Linked DNA regions of Homo sapiens: regions 2, 3 and 4 are each linked to region 1. Evidence: promoter capture Hi-C in human tissues and cell types (Jung and others, 2019). All regions are on one chromosome and are shown on one strand. Each heading gives the region's core, a stretch centred on a gene start or on the middle of the fragment in contact. The rest is flanking DNA. Distances are from core to core; before and after follow the strand shown. Region 1 holds the start of SLCO3A1 (solute carrier organic anion transporter family member 3A1). Region 2 overlaps SLCO3A1 (solute carrier organic anion transporter family member 3A1). Region 3 has its middle 200 kb from the start of SLCO3A1. Region 4 overlaps SLCO3A1 (solute carrier organic anion transporter family member 3A1).

The links. Contacts are between HindIII fragments. The study calls those that stand out against the background at their distance.
Region 2: a contact is called between a fragment that was not itself captured here and the fragment with the promoter of SLCO3A1 in region 1, in 1 of the 25 tissues and cell types used here (aorta).
Region 3: a contact is called between a fragment that was not itself captured here and the fragment with the promoter of SLCO3A1 in region 1, in 2 of the 25 tissues and cell types used here (heart left ventricle and mesendoderm cells).
Region 4: a fragment that was not itself captured here is called in contact with the fragment with the promoter of SLCO3A1 in region 1 in 1 of the 25 tissues and cell types used here (hippocampus).

The regions. Positions count from the first base shown.
Region 1 is chr15:91,851,971-91,855,315 of GRCh38, reverse strand. It overlaps SLCO3A1 (solute carrier organic anion transporter family member 3A1), which reads right to left and starts at 1,608. Exons shown (of 10, transcript NM_013272.4): 1 at 1,228-1,608. The coding sequence starts at 1,407. RefSeq lists silencers at 2,004-2,143, 2,012-2,186. The HindIII fragment of the contact is 13,420 bases long and covers 1-3,345 here.
Region 2 is chr15:91,985,398-91,988,700 of GRCh38, reverse strand. The region is part of intron 2 of SLCO3A1 (solute carrier organic anion transporter family member 3A1); the gene reads right to left. Among named protein-coding and RNA genes, the nearest start is that of SLCO3A1, 130 kb to the right of the region's middle. The HindIII fragment of the contact is 6,552 bases long and covers 1-3,303 here.
Region 3 is chr15:91,656,844-91,660,259 of GRCh38, reverse strand. No RefSeq gene overlaps it. Among named protein-coding and RNA genes, the nearest start is that of SLCO3A1, 200 kb to the left of the region's middle. The HindIII fragment of the contact is 8,960 bases long and covers 1-3,416 here.
Region 4 is chr15:92,003,154-92,006,334 of GRCh38, reverse strand. The region is part of intron 2 of SLCO3A1 (solute carrier organic anion transporter family member 3A1); the gene reads right to left. Among named protein-coding and RNA genes, the nearest start is that of SLCO3A1, 150 kb to the right of the region's middle. The HindIII fragment of the contact is 7,034 bases long and covers 1-3,181 here.

The DNA.
Region 1 (3,345 bases), core at 359-2,858:
TCCCTTTAACAGTGAGCCCTGAGCCTTAAGAGATAGTTTATGAATGGTATACAGCCCCCAGCGTCTGGCCCTCATGAACTTTACCCCAAGGCCAGGAATGAGGGATTAATCATAGCATCAGGATACGCGTGGTTCTATCTCTGGATGTGGTTATTCAATGGCCAAAATCTTGTCCAATTCTATCTCCATCAAACTTGCTCAGGAATACTCAAAGTCTATGACATTTGATTCCAGTTGCGGGTCAATAGCCAAGTAATGATTTAACACTATAAACTCTCAAAAAAAATTTCCCGTTTAGACAGGACTGTACTTAGGTGTGGAAGCACGCTCTCTGGAACTCAAGTTGCGACCACCTGAGCAGAGGAGGCGAAAGCGACAAAGTAGGTACCTGACAGTGCTGAGTCATTACAAGCTGTTTCCTCTGAAATGTTACGCACCCATGGGCCCTCTGAGCATTAACATCCCCTTTCTGGAGGCAAATAAAATACATATTCATTGTGGAAAATGGTGCAACCTTCTGTAGGCGACAGACCACGATGGGGAATTTAGCACTAAGAGTGGATAGCAGGAACTACACAAACTCGCAGCTGCTCTCTAGGTACCGTAACTTTATCCCAGACGCTCAAAGAGGGCTATAGGGATACCGGGTGGCAATATTCCCCCTGCAGCCCCGGCTCAGGCCAGGGCCACACTAGGGCGCATTTCACTCTAAGCTGTTATATCCCCCTGTAATTGGCGGATGTAGAAAGCGCCCGGAGAAAATGATGCATAATAGATTTGTTCTCGAGGAGGATGCAATGGAGAGTAGAGGACGCAGGATGCTAACTGGTTTTTCTTCCCATGTGCAGGTCACCTGAAAACCCCGACGCTTTTTCGTTCCTCTCCAAGGAGAACCCTGAACTCACCGTCTCGCTCCGCTCTTATGGGGGGAGAGGAATAGTTTCACGCCCACCTGCCCGCCGCCTCTCCTCCCCCGGCACCCCCTGCCCCAGCCGGACGCGCGCGAGCTGCTACCGGCATCAACGGTCCCGCCCGCTACCCGCTCGCTGGCAGCCCCGGCCGGCAGCTCCCCCGGCGGCCGCCTCTGCACCACTCGCCAACCTCCACGCCGGGCCGAGGTCATGCCCGCCTGCCCCCAGCGCCGGGCGGCCCCCTCGTCGGGCCAGGCGGCCGCTCGAGAGCCGGGCTGGGGAAGGGGCCCGCGGCGGAGTTGGCTCGGGGACTCACCAGGTAGGCGCCCACCGTGCCCTGCGCCAGCATCAGGGCGCACTCGGACACCAGGAAGATCTTGATGTTGGAAAAGCAGGACACCTTCTTTTTCTTTTTCTTGTTCCTCTGCGCCTCGTCCCCCTGCAGCTCGCCGCTCCGGCCGCCGCCCGACGAACCGCCCGGCTTCTTCCCCTGCATCCTTCCCCCGCCGCCGCCGCCGCCGCCGCCGCTGCCGCTTTCCCGCTCGCCCCGGGTGTCGGGGCCGCTGCCGGGCGGGGGTGCGCGCCTCGAGGCTGCGTGCTGTCCCCGCCCCGGGTTCGCGGCGGCCGCCCCCGTCCTGCCGGGGCTGGAGAGGTGGAAGGCACAGCTCCTCGCCGCCGCCGCCGCCGCCGCGATCGCCCCTTCCTCCTCCTCCTCCCCCGCCTCCGCCCTCCCCTGGCCTCCTCCTCCGGCTCCGGCTGTGCCAATCACAGGGGCTCGTCGCGCCGCCCGCCGCCGCCGCTGCCTCGCCTCCCGCGGCCGCCCGCCGCTGCCATCGCCCGGTTCCCCTTGCCCGCCGGCCGCGCCTGCTCTCACCCCCTCAGCCCCAGCCCCAAGGCCTGGGCCTGGGCCGCCGCTGCGCGCCCTCGCCGAGCCGCTCCTCGCTGCCGGTGCGCCCCCGGGGAGGCACGGGAGGCGGGCTTGGGATGCGGAGGGCGGCCCGGCGGCCGAGGCTGGGAGGGTCCGGCTGCCGGGAGAACTGGGGAGACCCGGAGTCCTTGCGGAGTAAGGGGGGTGCCCCTGAGGGCGGGAGGCGGCGCCCGGCCCCTAGGTGGCGCTGCGGGGCACGGGGCCCCGCGGCGGAGACTGGCGGCTCTGCGCCGGGCGCGGAGATGGGGTGCGGAGGCGCCCCCGCGGGGCTGGGACCCGGCGCTCGGGAACCCGGGTGCCCAGGCCTCAGAGGGCAGGCTGTTCCCAGGAAGGGAGAATACTGAGTACCCAGGAAGGGCTTGGCGCGCGCTCTTCTCCGCCCGGGGATTTCTGGGGACAGATGTTGTGCTCTGGGTCTTGGGGAGGTGCCAGAGGTCAGAGCTGCTTGAGGCTTCTGCCGCCTGCCGGTTTCTGCCCCAGCTGTCCCCGGCCACAGGGGGTGTTGAAAAGGCCCCAGACCGAAAGGACAGAAAGGGGAAGTTAGAGGAATACGTCGGGAGCCCCACGGACCGTTAGTGCCCCAGCCTCGGTGTCCAGGCGCTGCAAGATCGCCGCGGCCCCAGCAGAGGGCCTTCTCCGGCCCTTCATCCGCCCAGGGCCCCGCTGCTGGAGCGCTCAGCAAGCGGCCAGCCGCAGGCCTGCTGGGTCCCCACCCGTCCCCTGGCTCTGTGGCCCTGGCCACCATCCTCGGCCTTGACCTGAATGCCTGGCCCATGGCAGCCGCTCCTAATTACTCCCCACTCTCACCGTTACCAAGGAGTGTGGGCCACAGGGCACTACCAATAGGATCTGCTAGTTCTCAACTGCAGCGTTTGGAAGCTGAGAGAAAAGCTCAGAGGGCTGGACAGGTACCAGGAAACAGCACCTTCCACCTGGGCCATTGGGGGACTCAAGGAATCATTTAAAACGGTTTCCTTAATAATTGTGTCAAAGAAAATGACCCACTCTCCCAAGCGCCTGTGTCCAAATGCAGGCTCAACTTCAAAACTGAATAGCAATGAACCCGACCATATTTTTCCTTTCTCCCGAAGAACTTGAATGAGAATGGAGGGTGTAATGGTGGGGATGTTGTTTTGCCATGGCATTTAAATATAAACTGCTTCATCCTTCTGTGGCTCCAGACGTGATCTCACCCAGGCTTGGTGTCGCTTTGAGATGCCCTCACCTTGTCTAGGCCACCTCCTATCTGAATTGGCTCCCCCCACACTTGAAGTCTCTTCCCGTCTTCCCCACTTCCTGAATCAGTGGTCACACCATTCCCGGCCAGTCCTATAATGAGAATCCTTACTGCCCCCTTCTTTCTTCCCCACACCCTCCTATCACTCGGAGCCAACTTCTCTGCAGGATCTTTATGTCCCCCTCTTTCCCTCCCCATCACTTTGCTTCATGGGCTACCTCCCCACTTCCTCCTGAGAAGACCCTTGACAAGCTAGCTCTGTTCCCTGC
Region 2 (3,303 bases), core at 472-2,971, 130 kb before region 1:
TTTTCAGGCTCCACCTTAGAGTTATTACAAACTATAAGCACAGTGACCAGCAATCTGTGGTGGAACAAGCCCTCCAGGTGATTCTTATTCCCCTCAAGTTCAAAAACCACTGAAAAGGACCCACAGGATTTTGATTATTTTACTAATTGATCTGCACGTTTCCTTTTTATCGTGTCTCATGCTGAACCATCCCATGTAATCAAGTTTTCCTTGGGCTCACTGAATTTTTAATTTCTTTAAATAAAATAAAATAACATTTAAAAATAAAATTAGTTTTATTTTTAAATGTTAATTTATTACGTTCACTTGTTATTTCATTAATGATGCTACACTTCTCATCTATGTCTTTATTGATTGATTGCGACAGGGCCTCACTCTGTCACCCAGGCTGGAGTGCAGTGGTGCAATCACGGCTCACTGCAGCCTCCTCCTCCCCCCACCATGCCCGGCTTATTTTTTTTGTAGAGACGAGGTTTCGCCACATTGCCCAGGCTGGTCTTAAACTCCTGAGCTCAAGCGATCCAGCCGCCTTGGCCTGCCCAAGTGCTAGAATTATAGGCGTGCACCACCGCACCCAACCCTACGCCATTTTTCAAAAGTATATCTCCTTGCTATCAGCCCCTAGAAAAGCCTGCATCTGTAAGTGATAAAACACAATTATCTGTCAGGTGACAAAGAATGGTACAGACATGGGTTTGTAAATCAAAATAAATTTGACACAAGTGTTCTTGAATGGATTCCCTTAATCCTTTGCCGGCAAATCCCACATCCTCCACGTGGCCACGAGGACCCCTCCTTTAGGTATTTAAATATCCCTTGTGCCTGCTGACTGATTATATCTTTTAAGACTCAGGAAAACTGCTATTTTTCTTCTGAGCTCTTTGAGAATCCATCAAATGTCAGAATGTCATTTGAGCTGCGACCACAATTAATTATTATTATCTTTTTTTTTTTTTTTAGACAAAGTCTCGCTCTGTCGCCCAGGCTGGAGTGCAGTGGCGCCATCTCAGCTCACTGCAACCTCCGCCTCCTGGGTTCAAGCAACTCCCCCTGCCTCAGCCTCCCTAGCAGCTGGGGTTACAGGTGCCCGCCACCACACCCGGCTAATTTTTGTAGCTTCTAGTAGAGACGGAGTTTCATGATGTTGGCTAGGCTGGTCTCGAACTCCTGACCTCAGGTGATCCACCTGCCTCAGGCTCCCAAAGTGCTGGGATTACAGGCATGAGCCACTGTGCCTGACTTTATTATTAACAAAACAGGCTTCTCATCAATAATACATAAATTCCAAGAGAGCAAGAACTTTGTCTTGTTCACCGTTGTATCCCCAGAGCATAATACATCACTTGACACCTGACACATGATAGGTGTTCAGTAAATACGTGTTGAATAAACAAGTTAATTCATTAGCACCTACTGAACACTAGGCTCTAGGAATATGGGGGAAAAAAAGGCAGATGTATGCTCCCCCTTCATGTGGCACCTACCGACACAACGCAAAGAACTGGGTTTTGTTCCCTTATTATCTGATTATTGCTGCCACTCTTCTCAACTATACGGTTTTTAAAACCTGCATCACCTTCCTAGAAAATGTCAAATCTGTAAGCGATAAAAAGCAACTTCTGCTCAGGTTGCAAAGAATCTTTGGGGCTGTGAAGCCCCAAAGATGAGTAAGAAATGGTCCTTGCCTGTGTCCCTGCCTGGATACACTGAGATGGACAGCATCTGACCATGGCCACCACCAACCTTCCTCTCTCTTGACCGCTGACAGCTACCAGAATTTATGGGCAAAGGTACAAATGGAGATACCCTTCTCCCCATATGCCTTGACATTAAAAGTTTAAATTCAACCTAACAAACTTAAAATATGTTCTATCTTCCTATTTTTACAAATATATCTTCATAACAAAATCAAAACTATGAAAAAGCAACAGTTCATATTAAATAGCTATGGAGAGTACAAACCCAAATTAACTTCATTTCGCACCAAAGGCCATGATCCCCTCTGGGGCTGCCCTGTCCAGGAGGTTAACCAATGCAGCTGGTCTGAACTGAGGTGCGCTGGAAGTGTCAACCCACATCTGATTTTGAAACCTAGTTTTTTTTTTTTTTTAAAAGAATGTAAACGTCTCACTAGTAATGTTCACATTGATCACTTACTGAAATTATATTTTGGCTCTATTAGGTCAACATAAAATGAATTTTACTTCTTTCTGCATACTTTAAAAAAAAATGGCTACTAGAGAATTAAAATGACACCTGTCACTCATACTACCTTTCTTTGGGACAGTGAGCTCTAGGAGGCAGGCAAGGATGGAAGGAAAGGATCCTGCTGCCAATAGGCACCCACAGCCACTTCCCCATCTCCCTAATCTTATCTCCCCGGAATCCCATGGGGTGAACACCCACCTTTTGTCCTCTTCCCCAGGAAGCCAGGGAGGCTCTTTACCCCCTGACCCAGGCTCAGCTGCTTGCCCACCATCACACCCCTACCTGGACAGTAGCCGAGGAAAGGGCAAATATAGGCCGAGCATGGTGGCTAGCAGGTACTCCCTCATCTCTCAAAAAGCCATGCCACTCAGCCTCTGCCCACCAGGTGCTCCCAGAGCCCACCTCCACTGGTTTCACCTTGTCACGCTCCTCAAGGGAATGTAAACTCAGAGGACCAGATCCAAATGTGGAATTCCCAGCCTCCTTGGCACTGGAAGCCTGTTACAAGGGGGAGAGCCATACCCTGGTCATGGCACCCTCTTCCCCCAACCCAGGGCTCCATCCTGCTCCTCGAAGGCCTCCCCCACCTACACGTAGACTAGGAAGCCCACAGGAACCAGCTCCGTGCACTCATTCCTCCTTCCGTCCTGTCTCTGATGAGAAGCATCTCTTGGCCACCCCTTCAGGCCACCTTCTGCAGGACAAGCAGGCCCTGGAAGTGGTCCTGTGGCCCTTTGCAAGCAACCACCCTCCAGAACTGGCACACTCCTGAGGAGCACTAGTGCAGGGCCCTCTGTGACACAGGGCCTGAGGGACCCCATTGTCTGACGTAAGGACCATGCTGACAGTATCCACCAGAACAGCTAAAGCTAAAAAGACGACACTAATACCAAGTGTTGGTGAGCGTGGAACTGCTCCTCAACCCGTGCTCATTAGGAAACGTACACTGACACTTTTGGGCAGTATTACTAACAATGAACATACCTCATGACTCAGCAATTCCACTCCTAGGTGCGCATCCCACATAAATGTGGGCATATGTTCACCAAAACCCAGGGACAGTAATGCTCACAGAGACACTATTCATGATAGCCA
Region 3 (3,416 bases), core at 129-2,628, 190 kb after region 1:
CACTGGAAATAATTAAGGGAGTCTGCCTGCACACCCACAGCCCAGCAGCTGCAGCTGCAGTGGTGGAAACAGGTGTTTGGTGATGGGGAGCAAGGTGTGTGTAGGCATCCGAGGATCATGAAGTGTTAGCACTTAGGCTAGGAAAAAAGTTTCTATCCTCAATTTTCTCATTCACGAAATCAGAATTATTACTCATCCTGCTTTTCTCAAAATCACAGAGAATTCTAAAAGGCAGATTTTATAGTTCAGAACCACACCATCCAGTAGGACTTTCTGCAATATTGGAAATGTTCTATACATCTGCACACCCAACATGTCCACCAACTCGATAGTCACTAGTCATAGATGGCTATTGAGCACATGACGCTTGACTAGTATGACTGAGGAGCTGAATTTTAATTTATGCTCAGTATTAATTAAATTTAAATAGCCACACGTGGATAGTGGCTACTGCACTGGACAGCACAGGGAGGTTATCTAATTGAAACTACACTTCTTAGTCCATATTCTTCCTAGAAGTACCCCAAACCTATAATCCAGTCTTTGGGCATCAGTTAATGATGAGAAAATCATGATTGCCCAAGATGGTTCCTTCCATTTCAGGCTTCTGCTAAAGAAAGATGAGCCTATTTTGTCTCCATGTCAGCTTTTAGCATTTTCTACATTCTGGTCTTAGTGCCTTCTTCTGGGGACACTCATAGATGTAATTCCTCAATCTAGATGAGGGGCTTTTGAGAACTTGAAACATTTAGTATGTCAGTGGTTAATCTCTACTTCAGGCAAAACATGGTTTGAATACTATCTATTAAGAGAACAACTTTTGGAATCAGACTCCTTGGTTTTAAATATCAGCTTCATCATTCACCAAATACATGAGAGAAGACAAATTGCTAATCATAATCTCTGATTATTGTTTTCCTCCTCTATAAGATCATAGGAGAGTTGAAAGAATTAAATAAGATTGAACAGGTGAAACCACTGGTAGAGTCCATGGCCCATTGTAAACAATCCTGCAGTGTATTTTTTATTGTCAATGGTCTCCTCTGGATGTTCTCCCATTTATCAATGTCCTCTTAAAATGCAATATCCAGAACTCCGAGAATGTGTGTATACGTGCTTTGTAATCTAAAAGGCCACAAAAATATGATATATTGGTTTTGTTCTTATTGTTAGGATCACCGGGGTTTCCCTCTCTCCTCTACTTCCCTTATTTTAGTCATCATGGTGTTTGGAGCTTCTTTTGTACCCTAAAGCAGTACAACAGCTTCTTGGCTAGAAGAATCTTAGGACAAGATTGGTTCAATCCTGACAGAGAGAAATGTTCAGAAACATTTATAAGTCAAAATATTACCATATTTCTCAGTCTCTACTTATGAGCTGTTCCCTTCCATCAGGCATTACGCCAGAAAGAGCTGGAGGAGAGATGCTTGAAAGGGTATAGCCATAAGATGTTCTCTTCTTTCATATGGCAGGATTTATACCCATGCCACAGCCAAAAAGCAAATTACTTGCATTTTACATATGAGTGGTACCAGAAAAAAATAATTTGGGGCAATTAAAAATAAATTGAAAAAGCAACAACAAAAACAAGAGTATTATTCCAAGTATGTGATCATCAAAGCCATGTTTTCAGGTGGTAATTCACAGAAATGAAGACAGGCAGAGCTGGTGTTGTGCTGGAGTCTACTTCAAGTGGCATGAAAGAGCTGATTACTAAATTTTCAAAAAATTGGCAAGCTGGTTGACATCACAGTGGTAGCCTGAAACTGGCCGTGGAAGGAGTATTTACACACTGAAAACTGGCAAATACTACTCCGCTACCTTCTTGAACTCTTCCGCATCTCAAGTCCCCTTTGCTTCTTGGGTATTTCATTTCTTCCTTGAATCCAAAGATAAAGGACGTCCACCTGTTGAGTTTAGTATGGCATTTTGGAATCCAAACAAAGTCACCAGATATCACCAGATCATCCTGGAATAATTGAAGTAACCAAGCACCCAAGGAAGACATTTTAAAATGTTGTGTTGGAAATATCTTTGCTCACTTATCTTGTGGACTAATACTGACATCTAATGCTGCCTGCATCCCGTGACTCACTGTGGGATCTTAGGGAAATCATGTAGGCTTTGATTGCCTGCCTGGGGAGTGGAAATCTTCTCAAGCCTTTTCTGTCTTAGATCTTAGCTAGGTTAACTAAGAATAAGATATAGGTTACAGTGGAAAATATTAAATGCAATTTCAAGAAAGCATCTTTCATGAGGTTTAAATTACTTTGGGTGTAAGTAGTAACCCTATCATGAAAGAGTCTCTGTATTTAACATAAGTTTTGTTCAGAATGGGTACTGAATTTTGCCCATTGCTTTATCTGCATTGTCTAATTGATACATCATCTTATGATAATAGATTTTTGTAGGTGCATTTTTAATCACCTAACATTTATTAAAGACCTGGTATATACAAGACCCTCTGCTGGAAGCTTTATTTATCAAAAAACAAAGACAAAAACAAAAACAAAACAAAAAACAAGAAAAACAAAAAAACCCATAAATGTTGCAAGTGCTGAAACTGAGAGCCAAGCAGTCCAGTAATGCCCCAGGCCACACAACAGTAACACACAGAGCCAGGATTTCATTTTTCTGACTTCTAGAGCAGAACTTTGTTTATTCCACTAGCAGTGGTTGCATCCCACTCGCAAGAGTAATTGATTTGGTAAATAAGGTACTTTAAAAATTTTTGAGCCAACATTTATAAAACTTGGAGAATTCACATAGCCATCAAAAATGTTCTTTCATTTATTAGCTATTGATGAATATTCTGCAGAGTCAGCTTTGGCCGGGTAGCTATGCCCCTTTGGAGGGAGCACATGCTTGCCAGGTCCCTGAAGTCTCAGCCACCCTCTACTCAATGAAGATTAGGGTCAGTGCCACTTGCCAGCTGCTCACGGTGGCATTTTTCTTTATAGTAGAGAAATAGTTCTCTGCAATTATGCCCTTATGAAAAATGGGAAAATAAAAAGGTAGACTTGAAGGGATGATGGCAGAGAGCATATTTCTTTGTGGAAGTGAAGTTTACATCAGTACATCTACTATGAAAGTCACCTGCCTTGGTCCCCTGATGGGACTGGAAATGCTGCAGGGTATGAATCGCCTACTCGATCCTTGTAGGGTTCTCTCTTTCAATGCATAACCAAATTTTCTTTCCATTATAGTATTTTTTTAAAATACTTGCGTTACCAAGACTTGAATTATAAAGGCAATTGATTCAACGGGGATAAAGATGCTTTGTGCTTCAGGGTTTCAGCCTGGCAATAACTGCATTATTTTCCCTTCAGGAATATCAACAGTAGAGATATTTTTATAGCTATAAAAGAACAGCTATAAAAACCTGACATCACTGAGTAATTCAGCTTTGATCAGAT
Region 4 (3,181 bases), core at 337-2,836, 150 kb before region 1:
CTTATGTCATGGATCTTTAACTAATGTCACCTCTGAGCTCTTGGTCAGGCAGACCATCTGCTCTTAGAACCAGGATGGCGAACAGGCCCTGCTCTTTCTCGAAGTGCAGAAGTTAGAAAGGATGCAAAATTTTTAGGCAACTCCAGCACAACCTGGCTTATGTGAGAGACCTAATTAACCTCTGAATTTAATATTTTCTGATTGTTGCTTTCTAGGCTTTATAAAAAACAGATTAGCAAATTACCTAACAGCACGCCCAAGCATGAGACGACAGAGCAACTCAGCTGCTAACAGACACAGCCTGAGCACACCTGGTGTGGCATTATCTCCTTTCACATACAAGACGTTTTTAACCCTCACTGGGTGCAATTAGCTATTCCATTCCTCCTGTGAGAGTTAGAAGGGCTGAGTCTCAGAAACGCTTTCGCTCAGTCCCAAAGTCAGTGTGTGGCAGGTTCAGCAGTGGAATTCACATCCACTTGATTCCATGGCTTGAGTACTTTCTATCACATAGACAGGCCATCCCTACAAAAGGGAAGGTGACTGGGCCACAAGGGAATTATCCAGTGCATAACATCAAGAAATCTATCGGGTTGTGTAAAAGTGAGCTAGCGTAGGTGTGCTCTGCATCCCTCAGCGGTCAGGTGTATCCTCAAACTCAACTTCTCACAGGATAGGGGTCCATCCCCCCAGCTCTCTAGAGGCTGGGCAGCTGGCATTTCCAAGCACTCCTTTAAACAAGCAGCAGCAAAGCACAGGCAGGTGCTTGAGCCTAATGTGTGTTTTCCTCTGTGTAGGACTACTCTCACGCTTGCCTTGAAACCTGGACAGCAACAGCAAGGTAGAGATTCTCACCTACCCGCCAGACCCAGCATGAGTCCAACTGCAACCAGACTGAACCACACAGGATGTCAAGATCGCAGTGACAGATAGACCATCAACTTTCCAGACGCTCTTGAAGCGATCAGCCCCTTCGGCACACTATGGCCATCACTGCACCTCTGTGCAGGCTGTGACTGCCTGGCTAGGGCTGTTCTGAGCCAGGAACTTTAACCAGCAGATGGTTTCCATAAGCAAACACCAGGTGGGCAGAGCTACCTTGATGACTTTCTACTTACTGTTCAAAGGCCAATCACTTCCCCAAATGAGTTCCTGGGCCCAGAAAATCTCTCTGTAGGGTTCTAAAGACTTGTTTCTAAAAACAGCTAGAAGACTGAACTAATTATTTAATTAGATGCTTCAAAATAAACAATGCAAATATCATAAATCTTTTCATTTAACCACTGCTCTGCTTTTTAGTAAGTTGTGGCAAATAAAGCCACTGATATTTATTAGGGTTCAATAAGAGAGTTTCAGAGGCTTTAAAAGAGTTTTTAATTATCCCCATAAGGAAATGATGAGGCTTTCAGAGCTTAGAGCCATAGACCACACTTGGAGTGTTCTTCTGCTCTCTGCCAGACAGAACTACTTTAGGTAGGAGCTCAAATGCAGGCCATAGATGCATCCAGGATGAAAAGTAAAAGAATGTTTTTAACATTACACAAACCACCAGATTTCAGTCGGGACTAATGCATTTGAGGGACAATTGGGAGAAGCTCCAACTATTGCTTCTGGGATGCACCTGCATTAGTTCTCCAACTCACTCACCAGCATCTATCCCCTGCCAAACTCAAAGTGTCCTTCCAAATCACTTTGGAGATTTTGTTGATACACAGACTACGGTGACATCTAATCCAGGGAGTGAGTATCTTTGGTTTTTGGTGTTCTGTTTGTCAATAAAATGGCCAATAATTCATCATCTCTTCAACACTACTCAAGCATCTACTCTTCTAATGCTGCGTGGAGCAGAATTACTAAAACCACTCCCCTCTCCACGGATAGTCATCATCATTGTCATCACTGCCTAACCAGCTATACTCTTAGCTGCCTGTGTTAGGCCATATGCTGTGCTATGATGCCCTGCATACATTATCTCACTTAATCCTAACAGTTCCATGAGACGGACACCATCGTCATGGTCTTCACCGTATAGGAGGATGCAGAGGCTGAGCAGGGCTGCATGCCACAATCACACAGCTAGCAGGTGGCACAGCCTAGAACCTGTCCAGGTCTGTCAGCTCCAAAAACCAGACTCCCAGCTAGTCCAGCATGGCTCTCCACCTTTCCTGTGATTTAGCACAGACTGGAGCATGTTAAAGCTGATACTTACGAAGCCCTACCCCAGAGAGCCTCTCCCAGAAGGTCTGGGTGGGATCCAGGAATCTGCCCCTATAACCAGTGCCTGAGACGGTCCACGTACCACATACCATAAGGCACCAACCTATTTTGCACATTTCAGTTAATCTGGACGATTATCAGAATCCATGATAGAGGCTGACAGCTACAGCTGCTGAGCAGTGTGAGCATGGCCCTTCTGCAGCAGGTCCCCAGCTGCGCAGTGCTGATGGGGAGCACTGCCAGGCAATGCCTACTCCAGTGCCACCTCATTCAAACCTACTGCCAAGGGCTGTGATCCGACCCACAGCCTGGCCAGGCTGACCTGGTGTCATCTTCTGGCTGGTGGTGCATGTAATCCTGGCCCCGTATCCATGAATTCCATGGGGAACTAACTGTTGTGTATACCTACTGTATCACTCACGAAAGCCCTTCATCCCACAGGACAACCACTGCATGTCACTACTGAATCTTGTCTAGCTCTCATTTGCCAACTCCTGACCTTTCCCATGAAGTCTGGGATTTCTCATCAACGCAGCTGAGAAAATGACAGAAGGTCTGATGAAGGAATAACGAGGTATTCACTAACAAGATGTCCACTGATGAGACATCCTCTGATGGGAAGGGGGAGGCAGAATGACAAGATCTGTTGATAGATGCTGAGGCCAATGCATGACAGGCTAGCTGATGAAAAACTAATAAAGTACTAATAAGCAAAAGGAATGTATACTCCATAGTGTATCTTCTCTGAAGCCGAGACATTTGTTAGCACTAACCACTAGGGGTGAGACAGGACATGTGTAAGTCATTTCAGCAAGTCAGTGTTCAACCATCAATTAACTACCTCCTACCACGCATAAGTGCACTCGACAAACATTTACACAGCACGTATACTATGCTCAGCACGGTTCCAGGCACTAGAGAGATATAGCAATAAATAATATGACAGAATGGCCCTTCCTATCAG